2 separate regions of the Homo sapiens genome follow, and region 1 is linked to region 2. Evidence: promoter capture Hi-C in human tissues and cell types (Jung and others, 2019). All regions are on one chromosome and are shown on one strand. The core of a region is centred on a gene start or on the middle of the fragment in contact, and the rest is flanking DNA. Distances in the headings are between cores, read along the strand shown.

The links. The method cuts DNA at HindIII sites, captures the fragments that hold promoters and counts their contacts. A contact is called where the count stands out against the background at its distance.
Region 1: a contact is called between a fragment that was not itself captured here and the fragment with the promoter of FILIP1L in region 2, in 1 of the 25 tissues and cell types used here (aorta).

Annotation. Positions count from the first base shown.
Region 1 is chr3:100,157,878-100,164,701 of GRCh38, forward strand. It overlaps CMSS1 (cms1 ribosomal small subunit homolog), which reads left to right. Exons shown (of 10, transcript NM_032359.4): 3 at 2,553-2,624; 4 at 4,426-4,555. It overlaps LOC105374009 (a long non-coding RNA gene), which reads right to left and starts at 2,827. Exons shown (of 5, transcript XR_007095984.1): 1 at 2,308-2,827. The HindIII fragment of the contact is 3,751 bases long and covers 2,455-6,205 here.
Region 2 is chr3:100,111,795-100,118,770 of GRCh38, forward strand. FILIP1L (filamin A interacting protein 1 like) reads right to left here and starts at 2,707. Exons shown (of 6, transcript NM_001387850.1): 1 at 2,259-2,707. The region is part of intron 1 of CMSS1 (cms1 ribosomal small subunit homolog); the gene reads left to right. The HindIII fragment of the contact is 15,087 bases long and covers 1-6,976 here.

The DNA.
Region 1 (6,824 bases), core at 3,080-5,579, 48 kb after region 2:
TTTTAACCCTTTACTCTCTGTAGTACTTTGTGCCTCCAAAGTACTGGACCTTCTCAGAGTCGAGCAGGTCAAAGACTTACTTATTGTTAGCTTCCACCCCTTCTGAAACCCAGCTGCTAGCTTTCTCTCTGTGCCAAGTCACTTCTATCCAGCTCCAGCCACTTTCCATTTTCCAAAAAGTTGTTGAAATCTCTCCATTACTGTTGTTCTCTCTCCTGGTTTCTTGGTTTTTATATAGATCCTGCTCAATAGGTCCTTTTCAATGCCCTTTATTTTCAGTTTACTGGTATTTTGAGGTCCATTTGCCATGTGTAACCAGGAGAATCATTCTTAAAGTAATTTTTGATACTTTAAGGAATTGAAAATATGCTCTAGTTGCTTCCCTTAAAAGCAACATTTTTTTAGGGGAGTGTGATTCTTCAGACTACATATTTAAAATTGCTACATTTCATATAAAGAAATGACATTACTTATCAACTGTCAAAGTCACACAGTGTTGGAATTGGTTTCCAGAAATGCTTAGTGGCTTGGCCGGATTCTTTCACATCTTCCTACCTAGTCTCCCTGAGGGTAAACAGCAACATTCATAAAGCAGTTAACTAAATGTAAGAATTTTCAATACTGTGGATTTGGATTTCTCCATAAAGTCATCTCACCTCTATGGAAATTGACCCCATAAAATTGGCCTCTTCATTGGCACCCTACCACAGCCAGCTAAAGTAACTAGTCTCCAAAACCAAAGATTATTTTGCATTTCCTTTAGGATGATGTAAGAATTTGAACCTATCATTTAACTGAAGCAATATCATGGCTAAAGCAGTTCATCAAGCATGTTTCGTTTTCCTGTGCATGATTCAGAATTACATTTTTATTTTTTCTCCCAGAATTAAAGAGTCCATATTCTTACAATTGAGCTCATTTCTAGATTTAATTTATGTCATGTTTTAATTAATTGGCTTTGTAAACCTAGCACAAATGCAACCAGTACACTGAACATATTCCTCGAGAACACCTCCATACGTTAATAGATTGTAACAGGTTTCTAAATACGCTTCCCAAAAACCTTGATACTGGTAGAGATAATGCAGTATAGTTTAAGGGATCTGCTAATCATATCCCGGCCTTTGCCTTAGGAACATGAGCTGAACACTGGCCTGGTTTGTAATTGGACTCTTATGGCCATCTGGCAGCTTCTGTGACATATTAGTGGCCTTGGCACAGTCTCTAATTGGCATGTACCAGCATCAAATTGGCATGTATCTACATCCACAAGACAGTTTAACTTTCTAAATAAAAGAAGCCATATCTCTCTTTTCTTTAGCTATGATGCAATTGCTCTTTGCAGGTTTTTTGTTTTATCTTAGAGGAAACTAAAATTTCAAGATTTCCCATGTCACTTTAATCCTGAACTTTTTAAATCTATTTCTGTAATAACTAAAAGAGAATCTTGAAACTGCGGGTCTTTGGCCCCATGTCTTGAAGAAATTATGTAGTATTATATCTTTCTCTCTGACTTCAGGCCATAGACATTCTCAATCTGCAGGCTGTCTGCAAGCTTTCATAGAAAGATTCATCTGTAATCATTTTAGCAGAGCCAGTGGAGACAAGATTGCTTTAGTTAGTAGCTTATCAGTTTAAACTGAGTATTCTCTGGTTGGAATGGAAAGTTAATCAAGGAAAACTCAGAATAAGTTTTCACTTACATTTTATATCTTACTTGGCAACTTGTTTGACAATGTTGCATAAAAGGTCCAGCACAGGAAACATTTTATACTCCTGCTTATGATTAATAAATATGGAATCTGGGGCATTCTATTTTATAAATCAAGGTCTTAGTCCAAATTTCCTGTTTTTCTACATTAGAAAAAAGCCCTCAGGGTAAAAATAGTACTAAACTGGGGTACTCAGGGGTCAAGGCAACAGGCAAAACAGATTACTCTAGATACTGTGGTGCTGAGACGGTTATCAGACTAGTAGCAAAGACATTCATTTTGTAGTCATTATAGCAAAGGCATTTGATGCAGCTGGTTTATAAAAACGTAAGTTAATATATCTTACTTTGGATTTTCTATGCTTATTGAAAAGAGGAAAGGAATGTATAATACAAAACAATAAACCAGTGACTTGGAAATGTAGGCTCACACACAGCTAGTTCATGGAAAACCTTAGTCACTCTAGTCAAAGACTGTCTTACCACATCTTAATTTTAATCACATCGATTTCTGCTGTATTATACAAACTCAGCCACTGTCTTCAATCTCCAATACACTGCACTTCCACACCAAGCACACATATACACTCACTCACAATTTGATCTTGCTCAAAGATTCTCCAGTCTTAAGTCATCTGCGCTTTCTGACTTTCTCAAATTCTCTCAGCCCAACCGCTGCATAGTAACCTACGGTAGATCTTCCAGCATCTCTCTTTCTGTAGAATATTACCAAGATACTCTGAAGAATACATGCATGGCAGAAAGTACTTTGGGGTTCATGCCACTAATTGACACTTTATCATGAAAAGATTAAAATGTTCTCATTTGTATTTCTTAATAGCCTAAAGAATGTTTTTTGATACAACCAAAGGAAAGAAAAGAGAATACCACCAAGACCAGGAAAAGAAGAAAGGTAATATTAATAATTTCTTAAATTTGTATGGCCCCACATGGTTTCCATCACATTTTTATATATCATACTTTCTTGAGGCAACTATTGTAATCCCCACCTAAGAGATGCAGACATTGTAAGATTCTTTGAGGTTTGGTGACTTTCCTAAGGTCACTACTAATAAGTGTTTCTGTTGGAGCTAAGAATAAATTCTTCTGACTCCTATTTCAGTCCTGTGGAGTGCCAAATATCTTTGTTACCCACCCTATGTTTTCAGTGTGGTCAGATGTCAGACATAGATTTCTAATTCTAGAAGGAGTCCAGAGCTATCCTCCCCCGGCCCTTCTGGCTCTGTCCATGAAAAGAAATATACCAACCTCCTTTTTCTATTCATTCCGGATTTTAAGACCTTATACCTTAAAGTATGAATAAAAAGAAAATAATAAGCAGATGAAGGTAGTATGAGGCACTTCTGACTAATTTGGAACCATAAATTAGGTCAAAAAAGCTCCCCTACCTTGCATTTTGATATTTGCTGGTGAGCACAGGAAAGACTCTTTCTCATATACAAACTTTTTTATGGCTCAGCCTTGGAGAAAGTATGGTTAGCTATGACCTTCTCCCACAGTTGTGAAAACAGCAGTGTAATTCTCTCCCTGCCAAGAGGGGTCTGCTGCTGAAGTCAGCCGAGGAAATACGATTGGGATTAGAGGAAAGAAGATGGACTCAAACCTATTACTTAACAGCAAGCTTTTAGAAAACTGAGAGTGTGTGTGCATATGTTTTCTTTTCTTACAAATGGCCAAATAGGAAAATGGGAGATGCCAAATTGGCTGAGGTTTGGCAAGTCCTTAAATAAGTGACTTTAACTTCGCTTTGATAATTTGTACACTAATGGCCTTCTGGAGTGTTAAGTTCTTGGTGGCTCAAGGTCAAAACTCTAGCTAGATAGTTTAGTCTTGACTGAGGTCACACTAAAATGTGCCCACTGATGACATATTTTTAAAAGTTAATTTCTTTGACAGAGGCTTGACCATTCTTGGCAAGTGTCTAGAAATGAGGATATTGTAGAAGGAGGGGGAAAATCTGGGGTCAGGGGTGGGGAATGCTCCTTCTGGATCTTTGGTGGAACATTAGAAGGAAGTGAGAAGGGAAGCTTATGATGGAAATAAATGAATGATTGTGGGTTTCTACTACTGCAGCATTCAATACATGCTACACAAATGAGTCCAAATCAAAATCGATGTTGGAAAGTATTTCCTGTAATATTTTTTCTACTTTGCATAGGGCCACTTTAATACCATCAGTTATCCAAGACCTGAGAATCGAGGGTGTTAAGTCCCCTTCTCAGTAGGCCCCTATGCTCAGATTCCTACTGCGGGTTTTACACTAATGACAGAAATCCAAACTAAGACTCAGCACCTCAAAAACCAGATTGGGCAAGAAATTCTCAAAATTCTAATCCTACAGGAATATAAATCATCTAGGGCTAAAAGAGAGCTCTCCATAGCAATGAGATTTCTTTACTTTTAACAGAAAATAATACCCCAGTATGGAGATGCCTGCAAAAATTTAGTTATCTTGGAAGTCATAGACCAAGAGTTACAGGGAGCTTTCTAGATCATTTTTTCATTTTTCAAAGCAATAGTTATGTCCAAGAAGTATTTAGTGAATTTTCTCAAATGTATTTATTAAAACCCACATTCACACTTGGCTAACACCAAAAGCTATGTGCCGTTTAAATGCCAGAGGAACTAACCTATTCCAACCAAATGCCATTTTAAAATATGTCGTCCCATTTTTCTTCTTTCTCATATCTTAGAAGAAAATTACTGATGTTCTTGCAAAATCAGAACCAAAACCAGGGTTACCTGAAGACCTACAGAAGCTGATGAAGGACTATTATAGCAGCAGACGCTTGGTGATTGAATTAGAAGAACTGAACCTGCCAGGTATAGCCAAGCTTCAATTTTCCTAAAGACAAGGAGCAAAACATAAGTATCTGTTATGGTTAGGTGTCTCAGGCAGTCAATTAACACATTTTCCAGCGGGCATGGTGGCTCATGCCTATAATCCCAGCACTTTGGGAGACTGAGGCTAGAGGATCGCTTGAGCCCAGGTGTTTGAAACCAGCCTGGGCGATACAGTGAGACCTCATCGCTATTAAAAATAAGAATAATAATAATAATTGTTTAAAGAGACATACTTTCAGGCCAGGCACAGTGGCTCACGCCTATAATCCCAGCACTCTGGGAGGCTGAGACGGGTGGATCACTTGAGGTCAAGAGTTCAAGACCAGACTGGCCAACATAGTGAAACCCCATCTCTACTAAAAAATACAAAAATTAGCTGGGTGTGGTAGCACACGCCTGTAATCCCACCTACTTGGGAGGCTGAGGCAGAAGAATCACTTGAATCTGGGAGGCCGAGGTTACAGTGAGCCAAGATGACGCCATTGCACTCCAGCCTGGGGGACAGAGCGAGACTCCATCTCAAAGAAAAAAAAGAAACATAATACTTCTTTTCCTCAATCTAATAGTTTTAACTGATAGATTATATCAAATAGTTTTAACTGATAGATTATATCCTTACTGGATGCTAAACAGTATTTGTCAAATCTAATATTAAGATTTGTGATTGTATTTTTTTATTCAAAAGGTTAATTGTTGGGTGTGCATTTTTAACAAACTATTCAATGAGTAGGAATTCATCATGAGGATAGAAGTTGAAGTACACATTTAAAAGTATGGATGTGAAACACTGATTTACTCAACTATTATAGACAAGAACTTTAGCCTTAATAAGCAATTTAGTTTTGTTGTTGCTCTTATTATGGATTTCTAGTCATGGTTTTTAGAATAGTATTTTAGGTTGCAGGCCAGACTCTTTCAAGCAAACTGTCAAAAGGTAGGAACAAAATTCTGTATGTTTTGCGAGGCTGACACTTTGCCTCAAGGGATTCTTAGGCCTACTAGAATTTTAGATCCTCTGCCTTAGTGTATTTATAATTAAGCTAAAAGATATTACAAAATTTAAACAGCTAATTTTTTAAAAATATTTATTTATTTATTTTAGAGACAGTGTCTTGTTGTGTCGCCCAGGCTGGAGTGCAGTGGCACCATCGTAGTTCACTGCAGCCTCGAACTCCTGGGCTTAAGTGGATCCTCTCATCTCAGCCTCCCGAGTAGCTGGGAATATAGCCACGTGCCACCATACCCAGCTTAAACAACTAATTTTAATTAATTTCAAAATTATAATGCATCCTTTAACTCTTTTAGGCAGGGATGGGAGGAAATAGATGTTGTCATAAAATCAAACCATAAAAGTTTGGGTACAACTGCTTCAGATGAGCTATTTATAGACTACTAGGCATATCTAATATTGCTTTTGGAAAAAGTAGAGGGTGGCTTGATTTCCGTTTTCCATTACAACTTTATGCTTTCTAGAAGCTTGAGAAGCTGAAAAACAATCTGTTCCCTGAATTTTTATAATTCTTTTGTGATATCCTTTTTCAAAAACACACATTGGGTTTGGAGACATGAGTGCCCTGTCTGTTTTCCAAGGAGATTACCCTTTAGGGAATTGAAGGAGTGCATTTGCACATGAGCAGGATCTGGACTTTTAGACTTACTAAGCCCAGACAGTTCCAATAGCAGTTATAATCCACTCTTCTCAGCACACCACGGCCTCTGCTGTGAAAACTATGTCCTGACTGCACTATCACAGGAACTATTCTAACAAAACCACTTTTGAAGCTTTAACTGAAGTTTAATTTTTACTGTGACTCAATGGTCAGTTTTCCATTCTAGTTCTTTGTTAGAGCAACTTGAACTTAGGAAGGATTTGTGAGCAGTGGGACCACTGCTGTTCTGTAACCTCATGGAACATCGTAAACCTTGCTCCTCTCTGGAGTTAGAGAGAGTCAAAGCTCAGAAGAAACTTTTAAGGAGTCATTTGAGTTCCATAGTGAATTTGTTTGGTATTATTGTTTTATTAGAGTTCAGTAATATAGTTAGGCAAGAATGTGTGGTCATGGTTTGGGGAGGAAGGAAAATATGTTTGAAATAACGTTATAACCAAAAAGGACAGGTTTTTATTTTTAGTTAAAAAAATTAGGCCATTTAAGACACAATAAACTGAGACATCAGAGGAAGGTTTGAGAGAACAGGCCCTGGTCACTACACTGATGAGACCAAGGACAGAGAATAGATCTAAGCTAGA
Region 2 (6,976 bases), core at 1,457-3,956:
TGTCAACATCCCTCAAAGAAGGCTCAAGTATTTGCACTAAAATGTGTTTTCTAATTCAATTATTTGATGCTGAGATGGTATCTAAAATTGTCTCCATATCTATGTTGAACAACATGCACAATACACAGATTCAAATCACTAGTAATCAGACTCTCTGTGCAGATTCCTACACTCAGGGCATCTGGAGACCATGTTTGCCTCATTCACTGTTATAATCCCAATAACCAGCACGGGGCCTGGCACAGAGTAGGCATTCTAAAATAGTTGATGAATGAATGAACAAATGAGCAAACAAACTAAGCTATTACTATAAAAGTGTTCCCCTAATATAACTAAACAAACTTACTGTGTATTGCTGGTAGGCACTAGTTCTACTCTAAGGAAAATAAAAGCTACTAGCACTTTTTCTTTAAATGTTTTTTAATGTAACATATTAGAAAGGTGAAGCGGGTATTACATTGGTAATGAAAATTTTGCTTTAGGTTAGAACATAGAATAATATGGACTGTAATCAGAAGAAAAGAAGATAGAGCCCATTACATTTAGGTTTTTTGCATCCTTGGACCTGCCTGACTCTCGGCAAGTTGCAATGGCAGTCTCCTACAATAGCACTCTATTAAAGGCACCATCATTTCAATGGCACAATAAAATATCTTCATTTCCAGTGCCAGCGCCACTACCTAAGACCAAGTCTTGACTAAATTTATTACTTAAATTTATTGCTAATTTATTGCTTAAATAAAGCTTAAGCAAAAAAGACAATTACACATGAACTTTAATAGAAGGTAAACTCTAAAAATAAATTGTCACTCTTTAAATAATGAATGCTTTTCTTTGCTGCAGAACTTTTACAGAGTATCTTTGTATTGGTTAGTATAAGAATCCAAACCCCACATTGCTTTGGGAAATTACTGAGAAAATTCTCATCAGAGTAGTAGACCTTAATTACCCAGGTGGAAAGAGCCCATGAATATTATTGCTGCCTTTAGAAGTTTTTATTAACAAACAGCTCTTACAGTATTTATGCTGATTTTTAATTAAGCATAATGAGAGTTTCATAATAGTGTCAACTGATAAATGTAGAGAAATGTTTACTTGGAATATTTGGCTTTGGGAGATAGCAGATTGATAAATCAGAAAATGTCATCACAGGAAAAACAAGTTTAACTGTAGCTAAAGGAACATTGCTGTAATTGCAATGCATTCTCTCTAGTATTAACTACACCATGTTCTCCTTTATGCATATCTAATACACACGTGGAATATGGTAGTGTAGTTAAACAGTGTATGTGTTGCACCTCTTCTATTCCTTCCTGAGATGTGAACAGATAATGAATAAAGAAAGATATGTAATCATTAATTGGTATGGAAAGAAAAAAGAATAACTGAATATGTCACAACCATTTTAACTGAACACATATCTCTCTTCAGTGGAGCGCCTATATACAAAACTGTGCAGCCACCCTAAACATTGAATAATCCTCCCATTGAGGAGTACAGTGAGCAGAATTTTCTGTGATATCATTTGGCAGCAGCCTAGCATCATTTCCCATTTATATCCAGATGTGATGTGCCCATGGATATCCAGTCATCTTCTGTGGGGTGTTACAGAACAAGTTCTTGATAGGTATCTCCCAAGACCTGCCAAAAACCTTATCTCAGAAACCTGCTTCTGTTCTCTGGCTCTCATTCATTAAATCTTAACATCAACAGAAGGTAAACAAACAAAAGAAAAAAGATACAATATAGTTGCCATTTGAAAATGTTAGTTTCTTCCATTAATCTTTCCATGAAAAGAGAATTCCTCCTCTGCAATTTAACCTATTCAGTATAATTCTCCATTTTCAACACATTGTGATGATTTTGACACTGTATATTGATCATTCACATCAGCTTACAAAATCAAGCTATTAAGAAGGAAAGCCATTTATCCAAACATACTTTTTCTTTAATTTTTGACTATCCATCTTACTCTTAACAGGATAACAATTTAAAGTTTCATTTTGGTTTTCTTTCATGTGTATCACTATAGTAAAACTTACCTACTGTCAGGATAGTTCCTCTATTTTGCAAGCAACTCTTAGTCATTTTAGCCTAAAAGTCATCATCTGTCATAAGCTCTTAATCATACTACGTTCCCTTGCATAATATTCACAAGATCCTACTTTTGGAGAGTGGTGTTGGCCGCTCCTAGCTGGTGAATAACACAGAAACATCCCAAAGCCTCTTCTCAGCAAGGATGGGGACACTTAGCTTACCGTGCAGGTACCGTGCAGGTGTTGATCACACCTGGTAATTCCTTCTTCTCATCCCCACCAAAATCCAACAGTGGAATCCAGGACCAACAACAACGTTTTCTTCTTCTCTTTTTGGACACCCTCTCAGTTTTTGTTTTGTAGGCTTGAAAGCCACCGAGAGTTTGCAACCAGGGGCCAGTGATAGCTCTGCAAAGGAGAGGCAGTGGGGAGCCCAACAACAAGTAGGCCCAAACACTAAATATTGCCCTCTTCCCTCTCCGGGCAGTGTCCTTCATGCTCTGAAGACAGGCAGCCTTACCAAAACTCTTACCCCACAGCTTGCCAGTCTCTGTGGAAGAAAGGTTCTAACTGGACTGGGCTGCAGGATGAGGTGACCCAAAAGCCAGGAACCATCTGCGCAGAGCAGACAAGTAGAGGCAGGCACAGGCTCCGTGAGCACGTCTGTGTGTGTGTGTGTGTGTCTGTGTATGTGTGTTTGCATGCCTGTGCCCAGCAGCTGCTCTCCAGATTAGAAGACACCACTCTTTGGCCAGCAACTCTGAAACACCCTCTTAGGTAATTTTAAATTCATGTGCACATCTTGGCTGAGAGTAGAAACTTCCCAAGCACAACCTGGGTCCCATTCTTTGCTGTGTTGCTACCCCAGATATATTGTGAACCACAGACAGCAGTGCTAGCACCTTAGGAACAGATGCCCAGATGGACATTAAATTGCACCTCATTTTGTACCCTGCAGCCATGAGCTGATGTAAGCCTTGTTTGTGATTTAAGTAACAAGGGCATGACCCCTTCTTTGACACCCATAACCCAAGGCACTGTAAACATTCGCTATTATTAACGCTGTGTTGGACTCAAACTTGAATGCCTGCCTGTTCCATTTAGTGTCACAGGAGACACGAGGGCAAAGTGCTGAGGAAACTCTAGAGCAACATCGGAATGCATGGTGGTATGTTTATTATTATTATTTGACATTTTGTTTTATATTATTCAAGTGTTAAGAAAACCTTCATACTTAGGATTGCTAAAATTTGAAGCATCTAATTTTCTTTAAGTAGGATCACTTGTTCAGATTGAGGGGTTGGATAGAAGGGAGGAGTTTGTTCATTTATTCAACAAATATATATTTCAGCATCCATTATGTATCAGATCACTTACCAGACATGCCTACCACCTGCCCAGTGCTCAAGTCATGCATTATCTAATTTAATCCTCACAGCAGCCCTTTAAATTAGTCCTACTCCTGGTGATCTAATGAGAAAACCAAAGATCAGAATAATTTAATAACTTCCTAGGATCTCACAGATGATAGATATAAGACTGAGGATTCAAAATTGAATCTGAGTTACTCCAAAGCCCATGCTCTTTATTTTTAATTTTTAACATCAAAATAATTTCAGACTTATAGAAAAAATACAGGAATAATAAAGAATTTCCATATGCTCTTCACTAAGGTTCTCCAATGTTTAACATTTTACCACTGGTTGTATTCTCCCTCTCTTTCTCTTTCTCTCTCTCTCTCTCTGTCTCTCTCTCTCTCTCTCTCTCTCTCTCTCTCTCTCTCTCTCTCTCTCTCTCTGTCTCTCTCTCTCATCCTCCTTTCCACCCGTGAGTTTATTTTGGTGTGTGTATATTTTTTTCTGAATTAATTTATATACTTTAGTGTGATTATCTTAAAAATGTAAGTATACTCTTCTACATAACCACAGTATAACAATTAAATTCAGTAAATCAACTTTACTTTCTAATCCATAGATCCCATTCAACTTTTCACCAAATGTCTCAATAATATCCTTTATAGAAAAAAAATGGTTTTTTAGTCCACGATTATGTGTTGCATTTAGTTGCCTTGTCTCTACGTTCCTTCAATCTTGAACAGTTCTGTAATCTTCCTTTTTTATATGTGACCTTCACATTTTTGAAGAGTACGTTTTGTAGAATGTTCCTTAGTTTAGATTTGTGTGATGTTTCCTCATTGTGAGATTGAAATTGTGTATTTTTATGGCAGGAATACTACAGAAACAATGCTGTATTCTTCTTAATCATATCAGGAGTCACATAAACGGAGTTAGTCTTGTAACCAAACCCACTTGCTTAAGGTGGTATCTGTTAGATTTACTGTAAAATTATGGTTTTTCCTTTTGCAGTTAATAAATATTTTGTGGGGAGATACTTGGAGACTAGGTAAACATATTGCTCTTAAATAAACTTTCTTAGAGTGAAGAAGAGCATTCCCTTCTCCTCACTTATTTTTGTGTTTATTTATATCAACATGAGCTCATAAATTGCTGTTTTATTGAATGAGTTATAAATCACTAATATCATTATTTATTTTAATGCTCAAATGATCTCAGATGTGGTCCTCATGTTTTTCTGAGTACTTTCTTACCTTCTGGCACAAGAAAATGTTCCATAAGCATCTTGTACTTTCTGTGCCCAACTCTGGAATTAGCCATATCTTCAAGAAGACCTCCATCCATTATGGAAAATGGTATTTAGAAACCAAGATCTGGGGATTGCGTGAGCTCATTGCTTCCAGGCCCTTTCAGGTAATAGGCTAGGAAACACAAACACACACGCGCGCCTATATCTGTTGCTCTGTCTATTTATATTAAAGACTATGAGATCACACTGATAGCTGCATTTCCAATCTAACACCATAGACATAATCTGGCTTTTAACCCTTTCCATATTTGTAACTCCTTTCCCCAACAGTGAGGATAAGGTGGTTTCTGTTATCCTCAGAATACTTATGTATTTGCTCATTGCCCCTGTGGGTAAGGGCCCCTTTGGCCCTTAGTCTTTTTGGCCCCATCATCCCTGATTTCTCAAGGAAAAGGAAAGGAAGTAGTCAAAATTTTTTAAATAAAAAAGAAGGAAATGATGAGAATAAGAGTTTCATGTTCTTTCTATACCATAAAGTATCTGTATCTTCATGGCAAGGTAGGTATTAGAAATCATCATGCAATCTCTGTGAAGGTGTGAAGATGTCATGGAAACAAAAGTTTATAAAGACTGAGGGAAGAGTTCAATTATTTATTCACATAAATAAATAATTGCCATGTGTCAGGCACACTGTGAAAGATAGACGTAGCCCTTGCCCTTGTGAACCTATAATCTAGTGGATTATTTTTATTATAGTTGCTATTTATTATGTCACACTTTGGCAACACTACATTAAGTACATTGAGCACTTTATTTATGTTATTTGATTTTAATTCAGACAGAAACCCTATGGGAGAAATAGTCTTTTTTTCCAACTTTACAAAAAACGGAACTGAGGTTTTGAAAGATTAAGTAATCTTTCCAACATCACTGAGATAATTAGTAAGAGACCGGGATCTGCATTTAGTTTAGTCTGACTTCCGAGGCCTAACTCTAAACACTAGGGCTATATGAGAAAAAAATAAGGTGGAATTATTCATCATGGTGGCATCCAGAAGGAATCATGATTTTTAAAATCTTGAATGCAAACTCTCCTATAGAACTGTGCTATCCAGTACATTAACTACTAACCACGTATGGTTATTAAGAGCATAAAGTGTGGCTAATTCAAATGGAGATATGCTGTAATTATGAAATACACAGCAGATCTCAAAGACATTAGAAAACAACTAATGTAAAATATCTCAGTAATAATGTGTATATTGATTACAGGTTGAAAGATAATACTTTGGATAAATTGGGTAAAACAGATACACTTTTTTTTTTTACCATCACAATAGCCAAAAGGTGGAAACAACCCAAATGTCCATCAATGGATAGATAAACTGCAGTATATATATATATATATATATATATATACATATATATATATATATATATATATACACATACAATGGAGTATTACTCAGGCTTAAAGACGATTGAAATTCTGATACATACTACAATATGGATGAACCATGAAGGCATGCTAAGTGAAATAAATTAGGCACAAAAGGACAGATACTGTTATGATTCCACTTATATAAGGTACCCAGAATTGTCAAATTCATAGAAATAGAAAGTAGAATAGGGTTATCAACAGCTGGTGGGAAGGAATGATGGGGAGAATTGTTTAATGGGTGTAGAATTTCATCTGGGGATGATGGGAAAATTCTGGAAATAGAGAGTAGTGATGGTTGCATACCAGTGTAGTTGTACTTTATTTCACTGAGTTGCACACATGAAAAGGGTTAAAATGGTAATATGTTCTGTGTATTTACTATTATTTTTAAAAATTGGTTTTACTATTTCTAGAAAATTTAACATAACATACACGGCTTATATTATATCTCTATTAGATAGCATTGCTATAGTATTGTATTATTAATACAGAAAATTAGTTATTTAAGAGATTTTGAGATATTAAATGATCCTACATTAGACTTTTCACCTCCTGATCAGTCAGCTTTGAAAGAGTTACAGGACAGCTTTTCACTTACAGTTGTATTAGTGACATAGACTTTTGAAATTAACTTTATGAAACTAGCCATTTGTTGTTTTAATAGTTCATTTTCCAGTTGCAGAGTATCCATGCGGCCTCTGTTCAAGCACTAACATAATTGTCTCAGCCTATGTAGATCCTACAATATAATTATCTTAAAATTCCATCTCCGTTTAAGCTTCCTTGGGTCCATGGAATTGATATTAGTTCATCAGTTAACTTTCAAAAGTTGACCCCTAGGACAGAAACTCTTCCCCTTTCCTGTGGCCTTTCTGTCACAGCATCTACCAAAAAT